Regions from separate parts of the Homo sapiens genome. Here region 2 is linked to region 1. The links are contacts of gene promoters, found by promoter capture Hi-C in blood cells and fetal thymus (Javierre and others, 2016). All regions are on one chromosome and are shown on one strand. Each heading gives the region's core, a stretch centred on a gene start or on the middle of the fragment in contact. The rest is flanking DNA. Distances are from core to core; before and after follow the strand shown. Region 1 holds the start of FAM89A (family with sequence similarity 89 member A). Region 2 holds the start of EXOC8 (exocyst complex component 8).

Region 1 (4,750 bases), core at 567-3,066:
GTATGGAATTTAAATAATCAAAGATGATCTTCCTACTTCACCCCCGTGGTTCTGCTATGTCCAAGTTCAGACTGTAAACACACTACGTGTAGATTTATCTAATTAAAATGCAGTTCACCAGCTGTGTGATGCTTATGTCAATGAATGTTTTTTAATAAATTAAAAACGGTTGGCTTGGAATTTAAGTGGTTCTGTAAGAAGCTTAGAAAATCTTTTCAGTGAGAATTGGAAATCACTTCAATGCCAGCTACAGAGTAGGAAGACAATATCTCTTTGATTAAAAGTGTTAAGGCTGCTTTCTGAATTCAATTAAGTCTTAGTTTTCAGAACAGATAATGCTCCTGAAAAAAAAGTATGCATACCCTGAATTTTTCTAAACAATATCTTAAATGCACTAGATACATATTTAAAAGATTCCTATAACAATTTATTTTTTGGCAAATTTAGTTTTGGGAAAAGGCAGCTTTCCTAATGTTAGATTTCTTAACAATTTACCTATAGGGAAAGGAGACAACCTGGACGAGGTGAATGGAAAGGGAGGCTTTTAAAACGAGGGGATTGGGAGGAGGTGATGGGGGCCAGTAAGATGGTAGAAAAGAGGAAAAGTTTTTGATTTCTTCTTGCCTGGCCTACGCCTGGCCGAGAAAGCTGGGGAAAGACTCGCTGTTGCCTAAATCCCTGCCCTTGTCCTACTTTTAGCGTCACCCTAAATCATGTGTGTTCTGGTCCACAAACAGCTAATGTACTTCCCAAGCACAGAGAAACACTGAGCCCATGGTATGGAGCTTAGACACAAGGCGAAGAACTCACATGGACAGCACCCAGACCGGGAGGACAGCCACCTCCCACCTTTCTCAAGAGGGTTTGGGCAATCAGCTTCGCGGGGCTGAGGGACCCGGCCGCCTCCCTCGCCCGGGGTGCGCGTCTGCTTTCGCAGCCATCTGTGCGCCGGGGCCATCCCGCGGTAATCGGATCACGGACGCGCGGCCTGGGGCGCCGGAAAGGGGGCCGGGCTGTTCCAATCTGCTGTCTACACTGGCGGCGGACAAAAGTTGTCCTCTTCGTGGTAGGAAAACGCAATCGCGTTAATCCGTTGGGCCGCTGTGAAAGCCTTTCCCCCACCGGGAAGGTCTGTTTCACTCGGGGAGAGGTGACAAGGCCGCCCCCGCCCCCAGGCCAGGCACGAACCCCGCACAGCGCTTCCGGGCGCCCAGGTTTCCGAGCCAGCGGGGCCGGACTGAGGGCGCCGGGCATAAGAAAGCCGCCCTCTGCGCGCGGGGCTCTCCCGCGGGGGTTCCAATCGTGGGCACGGAGCACGCGAGAAAAATGGGGGTCGTTGGGAGGACGGCGCCGGCGCCTGGGGCGGAGGAGCCCGAAAGGGCGGGTGGGCGCGGGGACTTCCGGACAGAGCGCGGTCCCCGCGAACTTTCCCGGGACGGCGAGCCCGGCCGGGAAGAGCCCCAGCTCGCGGAGCCCCACTCACCATCTCTTTGCGGAGCAGCGCCAGAGCGGCGTCCAGGTTGGGAGGCTTGGCGGGCAGCGCTGCCGCCCGGGCCCCGCCGCCGCCCGGGCCCCCGCGGCTCAGCTCGTCCTGGATGCGCGACTTCTGCGCGTACAGCCGCTCCAGGTGCCGCCAGCCCCCAGACGCGCCGCCGCCCGACGCCGAGTGCAGCAGCCCGCTCAAGCTCTTTGGCAGCGGGGGCAGCCCGTCCACCCGCAGCCCCCGGACCGCGCCGTTGCCCGCGGCCCCGGGCGCCGCCCGGGCCCCACTCATCGCGCCGCGGCCCGGCCACGCGCCTGCCCCGCTGCAGCGAACCAAGGCTTTCCCCCGGCCCGCCCCCTTCCCGGCGGTGCCCCGCCCACTTCCCCTCCCGCGCCACGCCCCCCCGGCCCCGCCCCCTCTCCTCGAGGCCCCTGCGCGGGCCCCGGGTCCGGGTGGCGTCCGCGTCCAGCAGCCGGGCTCGCCTCCACCCGGGTCTCCTCCTCCCTCGCGCCCCTCCAGCGCCCTAATTCATCTCCAACTCCGCGTGACTACCCTCTAACCCCCCGACTCACCTCCAGCCCCGTCACGAACCCTTCTGTGCCACTCCCTAGCTCCGAACCTACTAAGCCCCCCGCGACCCGCAGCTTCCCGGTTCACCCCCATCTCTGTCCCCACCTCCTCTGAACCACCTCCCAGCTTCCCGGCTCACCCCTAGCTCCGAACCCTCTCACCCGCGCCACCCCGAACCCCAGCTTCCCGGCTCACCCGCATCTCTGTCCCCACCTCCTCTGTGCCAACCCCCAGCTTCCCGGCTCACCCCCAGTTCCGCCCCCACGCCCTCTGTGCCACCCTCAGCTCACTGGCTCACCCTCAGCTCCGAACCCACTCACCCCCCACCCCAGGCTTCCGGATCACCCCCATCTCTGCTCCCACCTCCTCTGTGCCACCCCCAGTTCACTGGCTCGCCCCCAGCCCCGTCTCCACTCCCTCTGTCCCACCCCTCAACGCCCGCTCACCTCCAACCCGGCTCCAGACTTCCCCCTTACCTGCCAGCGCTCCTCAGCTCCTTGCCTCACCGATCCCTGCCCTGCCCAGGGGGCGGCCCAGCTTCAGATCCCACGAAGCAGGCCGTTGCAGGGGGTGGGGGTACCGAGGCTCTGGCTCACAACCGGCAGGACGTCGAGGGCAGGAGGCCTGGCTCTGGTCCCAGGACCCCCGGCCCTCCCCGAGGGCGGAATCCAGCCCGCCTCCTGCTGCCTCCCACTCGCCGCGGGGGGCGGCTGGGGGCCCCAGACCCGGGCAGGTCGCTCCTTGCCGCCGGGCGCGCTGGCCTTCTCAGCACGGCCTTGTCCAGCAGTACCCGCAGCAGTCAGCAAGAACGCCAGACCCACTTTTGAAACTTCAAAACACTAGTAAACATGCCTTTCATTCTGGCCATAAACACAAGAGTAACTCTAAGTGGAAATGTCAGGAAACCAGAGAAAGGGATTAAATCTCGGAAATTATCCATCAGCTCAGGCAAAAATAAACACGACGCACACCTCAGAGGAAAAGAGAAGAGAGAGAGAGACTCTGCCCCTCCCAGGAAAAGTAAAAATGACAGGCAGTTATAACCAGATTAGAGATAGAAAAGATCAAGAAGTAAACGCTACAGCCCAACCGCAGATTAAAAACTAATGCAGTGTATAGATTGGATAACTTTAATGCCCATTCATTATTGGCTTTAATTATAAAGGGATTTAATTTTCTAGCTACATTCAAGGGGATCAAAATTATAAAGTGTTCTGAGCACTTCAGACACCCAACATAAAAGAGCCCTGCACTTTGGGTTGTTTTATACCCTTTACCACCTCCTAGAGCCCACCCCAGAAGCAGTGTCTTTGAAATTGGCACAATATTCTCCCTGGACGGTTGCAAGTGGGTGAGACTGATATGAAGAAGCTTTAGTGCAGGCGGTGTGATTGACAGCACCCAGGCTTCCCACCCCACCCACTGCCCAGAATTTTCCGCCTCTTCACTGTGCCTCACCTTCTACTAATTACCTAGTCACATTTCTGGATGTCAGGTATTTATTCATTCACTTATGTAAACGGTGGGTGTCTTCAGGAGAGTGACCAGTCTGCCTGTGTGGGAGTAAGGGAGAGGAAGGGGTGGGAAGCATTTTGACATTCGGTTCACACCTTAGCATGAATTTTTTTTTTTTTATGAGACAGTCTATCACTCAAGCTAGAGTGCAGTGGCGTGATCTCAGCTCACTGCAACCTCTGCCTCCTGGGTCAAGCAATTCTCCTGTCTCTGCCTCCCAAGTAGCTGGAATTACAGGCATGTGCCACGACGCCCGACTAATTTTTGTATTTTTAGTAGAAATGGGGTTTCACGATGTTGGCCAGGCTGGTCTCGAACTCCTGACCTCAGGTGATCCACCCACCTCGGCCTCCCAAAGTGCTGGGATTACAGGTGTGAGCCATCGCGCCCAGCCTGCATGAATTTCTTTAATTTCACTGGTTACAATGCAGTCTCACCTGTAGTACCTAGCAGAAATCACTCAAGGTAGGTGATAGGAGATTCAGCTATGTGATGGTGAAATAAGAAAAGAAATCACTTTGAAGTATCGGGGCACTGAAAGCATTTTAAAGCACATACTTCAGAGAATTACGGATTACAGAAGGAAAAGGAGGTTAGGGTCAGCTAGACAGCAGCATGAGGTCCGTGGTGTCAGGACTCGAGAAAAGAGGCACAACTTAGACAATGCCAACCTTACCAATTTTTTTTTTCTTTTTTGAGATGGAGTCTCACTCTGTCGCCCAAGCTGGAGTGCAGTGGCGCGATCTTGGCTCACTGCAACCTCCACCTCTCGGGTTCAAGCAATTCTCCGCCTCAGCCTCCCAAGTAGCTGGGATTACAGGCACCCGCCACCATACCCATCACCATCTTGGCCAGGCTGGTCTTGAACTCCTGACCTCACGATCTACCCACCTCAGCCTCCCAAAGTGCTGGGATTACAGGCATGAGCCACCACGCCAGGCCAACCTTAACATTTTAAAGGCAGGCTCTGCGTTCTGGCCTATACTCAGTGAGGTAAGAGTATTGAAATCAGTATCAACAAATAATATCCCAGGGTAAGGAGAAGTTTCTACAGAATTTCTGTGGTGCTGGTGAAGACATTATTTGTACAAGCCTGAAACTATTATATAACAAATATTTTGACATCCTTGGGGAATGTTAGTGTCTGTTTATTCAAATGCCAATATAAAGTACCTTTTAAAG
Region 2 (4,750 bases), core at 530-3,029, 300 kb after region 1:
GTGCGCTGCTTTCCTTCCTCGCCTGGACCGGAGCCGTCGCGGGAGGCACCCCCGGGGGTGGAGAAAAAGCCGGCCTGGCCTCGGAGGTGGTCTCGGCCCCCCGCCCCACCGACTCCCTCCTCCCCTCCAGAGGCGGCGGCGGCTCCGGCGGCAGCAGCGGCAGGCAGCAACGTAAGCGGGATGCTCTCCAGGCTGCTTTTCTGCTCGGTCAGCAAATGGCTGAGCTGGTACATCTCGCTCTCCAGGTAGGAGATCTCGCGGGCCGTCTCTATGAACTGCCGGTAGTTCTGGTAGACGTTGCGCTTCAGGTTCTGCGCCGTCTCCTCCGCCAGCGCCTGGATGCGCTGCCGGTGCTCCTGGAGGTCCCGGTCCCCATCCGACTGCTGCGAGAGCTGCTTCACGTACAGCCGCGCCTCAAAACCCCCTGACTCCAGCTGCCGACGCAGGCGGCTCGCCCCACTGTCCGACATCGCCATCGCCATTTCTCTCCGGGTCTCACGCACTCACTGTCACTATCGGCGCCGCAGCCGCCGCGGCTGTCTAGACCCACCCAAGGCCAACCGAGCTCCTGGGCTGAGGAAGCAGGAATGGGAACGAGACGAGTACGCCTGCGCCGGGTCTGAGCGTCAGACACTGCGCCTGCGCAAGTGGGCCGAGCGCAGACATTGCGCCTGCGCAGCAATGCCATCGGTTAAAGCGCATGCGCAAGATGAGCTATTGCGGAAGTGAGGGGAGGGAGAGGCCGAGAGAAATTTCGGTACTGCGCATGAACCGAGCGTGACGTTGAGGTTTGAAATAACCGGCAAAGAGTAAAGGCTGAAACTAGCTTCCTGAAAGCTTCGTAGGGCCCGAGCCCTGTGAGCCCAGGTTCTGCGCCCACTAGGAGGTGTCATGCTGACTGCTTTTTTTAAAGCCCTAGAATCTTGGCTTCGGCGTTTGGGGTAAGCTCCGTTCTCGTTCTCAAGCGCGTTTCCGCGAACTCTCGCGGGATTGACGGGCCGTCTCGAGAGCCGGCATCTCCTAGGAGCTAGTCCTGGTCCTCGGCTAGGCGGCTTGGGGTCGCGGCGTAACTGGGGAGCCAGCCTGACGCCGGCGGACCCCGCCTGTGATCCTGGCAACGATGGATGATGACTTGATGTTGGCACTGCGGCTTCAGGAGGAGTGGAACTTGCAGGAGGCGGAGCGCGATCATGCCCAGGAGTCCCTGTCGCTAGTGGACGCGTCGTGGGAGTTGGTGGACCCCACACCGGACTTGCAGGCACTGTTTGTTCAGTTTAACGACCAATTCTTCTGGGGCCAGCTGGAGGCCGTCGAGGTGAAGTGGAGCGTGCGAATGACCCTGTGAGTTCCGAGCCCCGCTGGGGAAAGAGGCGGGACTGGCAGCTTTCCTGCAGCCCCCGGCCCTGGTTTTCTCTCCTTTCTCTAGTCCGACGGTCCCAGGGGGCGTTAAATGAGGGGAGTCTGGTTTTGGACCTGGCAATTCCTGCCTCGGCGTGTTTCTGTCTTCCTTACCTTTTCTCCCACTCGAACAATAAGAAAGCTGTGTAGACCACACCGCCACGGTTGGACTCAGGGCCGTAACAAAAAAGAGATTTTTATTTGAATCTCACTTCACTTGAAAATAACAAGTTCCTGATTTGCCTTATGATAGTGCTGTAGGACCCAGAAGGGAGAAGCAACCAAATCTGCACCTAAGAAAGTGCTGAGGACGCAGAGTAACTGCCAAAGGATGTGTGTTCTCCTCCTCTATTCCCGTTAGGAAACCCACTTTAGTTAGCTCGTGTGTTGCATTGGGGATCTTCAGTGATGCTTTTAAAACGATTCTTTTTCTACACGCTAAATTTCAGAAATCCCTATTTGAAATAATAATCTACTCCTGCACGTGAACAGGGTTAAGTTTAAGATACAGTTGTATCCCAGCATGCTTGTTTTTGAGTTGATAGAAAACAACCTACTGTCAAACAAATTAAGATATGATATTAAATTGTGTTTAAAGTACCAATTTCCTTTATACAGGCGTCTGTTATGATTTTGGAGATATGCTACTGGAGATATCTGCTTGTTAATAACACCGAACTGTAACTTGTCGGAAGGAGACTGGGAGTAGCAGAATAGGATTGCCTTTGAGCTGTTGCAGCCTAGCTAGGGCAAGGGGAGCTGCAGTTGGGCCATGTGGTCCGCATCGTATTCCACTAGGTCCCCGTTGTACACCAGGTACGGTCCTGGCGTCTCTAGCAGGTGCCTGCAGCCTTCCACCTTCTCAAGCAGGGTGGTGAGAGCACGCTGCTTTCCTTCCTTGCCCGGCGGGGATCGGAGCCATCGCGGGAGGCGCCCGCGGGGGTTGTAACTAATTAATTAGGTGAAATGCAAGTATCTGCTAACCAAGGGGGGTATACTTTCATGAAAGCCATCTGCCAACTGAGTTAGTGTGAACTGCCCAAGAATGTGTAAGGACTTGGGCATATTTGGCCAATGTAACACATTTTTATGGTGATTGTTTTCTAGGTGTGCTGGGATATGCAGCTATGAAGGGAAGGGTGGAATGTGTTCCATCCGTCTCAGCGAACCCCTTTTGAAGTTGAGGCCAAGAAAGGATCTTGTAGAGGTATTTTTCGTGTAAACTTGCTTCCTAGCGCAGTAATTTACAAATACTTGTCAATGATTTAGACTGCTGTGAATTCGCCTGTATGTATCGTTAAAAAAAGTCACTTTGCCCTCAGTGAAAGCTTGAATTATGGGGCAAACAATAATGAACACCTTATGTTTTTTATAGTGCTTCATAGTAAAAAAAAAAAAAACAAAAAAAAGGCTTCTAGGGGCCGGGCACGCTGGCTCACGCCTGTAATCCCGACACTTTGGGAGGCCGAGGCGGGCGGATCACGAGGTCAGAAGATCAAAAACATCCTAGCCAACACGGTGAAACCCCGTCTCTACAAAAAAAAAAATACAGAAAATTAGCCGGGCGTGGTGGCCGGCGCCTGTAGTCCCAGCTACTCGGGAGGCTGAGGCAGGAGAATGGCATGAACTGAGGAGGCGGAGCTTGCAATGAGCCGAGATCGCGCCACTGCACTCCAGCCTGGGTGACAGAGCAAGACTCTGTCTCAAAAAAATAAAAGCCTTCTAGGTATATTATCTGTTTTGATTTTACAACAGCCCTGTTTATGTTCATGTGTTGCTGTTTTCATTTTTATGAGTAAAGAAATTAAGGTTCAGAGAGGTTAAGTAACTGGCTTAAGTTACTTATTTAGAAACAGAGAAAACAGGATCCACATGTTCCTGTTGAGAAACACAAATTTTGATTCTCCTCAGTTGGGCTGCAACACTGCTGTGCTCTCAGGACACCTAGCTGAGCTGGCAGCACAAACCAGTGTGAGGGCACGCTTCACATTTAGAGCTGGTACTTACTTCTGCTAGCAGAATGGAGCAGTGGGAGCTGAGGCAGGAGGATCTCTTGAACCCGGGAGGCGGAGGTTGCAGTGAGCCGAGACCGTACCATTGCATTCCAGCCTGGGCAACAAGAGCGAAACTCTGTCTCAAAAAAAAAAAGAAAGAATTATCTGTACAAAAGAGCACAGTGGTAGTTTCTGAGCATGGGGTGGGAAGCATGTTAAAACATGCTTGGAGATGAGAGATGCTGTTTTTAAGGATAATAAAAGGCAATGGATTACATAACAGTGTGAATATACTCAACACTGAACTGTACACATAAAAATGGGTAAGTTGGGGAATTTTGTTAATTTTTTTTACCACAGTTTGTTTAAAAAGTAGCTACTAAATGTAAAGTGGTACAGTAGAAATACTTGATTAATGAAAAAGAACAGAGCTCAGATGATAAAGAGAAAGGTAGGTGTAAACAAAATATCAGTTAAATGTAAGTGGACTAAACACTCCATTAAATACATGGAATGGCATGCTAGATTAAAAGAGACATGCTTACAGTAAAGACACACTTATTTTAAGTTTAAAAGGATGAGGAAAAGTAATCATCCAAACACTTAAAAGCAGAAAACTATTGTGGCTATAAGGTTGAGTACTCATTATCCAAAGTGGGACCAGAAGTGTTTCAGATTTTTTTTTTTTTTACTTTGGAATATTTGCATTATACTTACTGGTTGAGCTTCCCTAATCCAAAAGTCCCAAATCTGAAATGGCTTTAGTGAGCATTTCCTTAGAACTTAACCTTTAATCATCTTGTAAGTGCTCAAAAAGTTTTAGATTTTGGAGCATTTCAGATTTTGGATTGTCAAATTAGGGATGTTCAACCAGTATTAGTATCAGACTAAAGACTTCAAGGGAAGAAGTTTTACTAGAGGAAAAGTGGGATATTTTATAATAATAAAATAATCTATTAAGCAACAATACATAATCTCTCCAAAAGTAATAACATAACTTTAAATTTTATGAGGCATAAATTAGCAGAAGCAAAAAGAATATACAATCAGGCTGGGTGCGGTGGCTCACGCCCATAATCCCAGCACTTTGGGAAGCTGAGACAGGCGGATCACTTGAGGCCAGGAGTTTGAGACCAGCCTGACCAACATGGTGAAACCCCGTCTCTACTAAAAATACAAAAATTAGCTGCGTGTGGTGACACAGCCTGTAGTACCAGCTACTCAGGAGGCTGACGCACAAGAATCGCATGAACTCGGGAGGTGGAGGTTACAGTGAGCCGAGATCACACCACAGCACTACAGCCTGGGGTGACAGAGCAAGACCCTGTCTCACTACAGCCTCAACCTCCCAGGCCCAA

Evidence for each region. Contacts are between HindIII fragments. The CHiCAGO score rates a contact against its expected background, and 5 or more counts as called.
Region 2: a contact is called between a fragment that was not itself captured here and the fragment with the promoter of FAM89A in region 1, in 1 of 17 cell types (activated CD4 T cells). The highest score is 7.1, in activated CD4 T cells.

What each region holds. Positions count from the first base shown.
Region 1 is chr1:231,038,438-231,043,187 of GRCh38, forward strand. It overlaps FAM89A (family with sequence similarity 89 member A), which reads right to left and starts at 1,817. Exons shown (of 2, transcript NM_198552.3): 1 at 1,484-1,817. The coding sequence starts at 1,774. RefSeq lists an enhancer at 495-1,176 and silencers at 839-918, 1,559-1,608, 1,869-1,978. The HindIII fragment of the contact is 3,223 bases long and covers 200-3,422 here.
Region 2 is chr1:231,337,264-231,342,013 of GRCh38, forward strand. EXOC8 (exocyst complex component 8) reads right to left here and starts at 589. Exons shown (of 1, transcript NM_175876.5): 1 at 1-589. The coding sequence starts at 482. SPRTN (SprT-like N-terminal domain) reads left to right here and starts at 1,030. Exons shown (of 5, transcript NM_032018.7): 1 at 1,030-1,341; 2 at 2,506-2,605. The coding sequence starts at 1,121. RefSeq lists enhancers at 1-766, 314-363, 767-1,641, 1,044-1,243, 1,642-2,516 and 1 more and silencers at 24-193, 2,265-2,314. The HindIII fragment of the contact is 1,889 bases long and covers 836-2,724 here.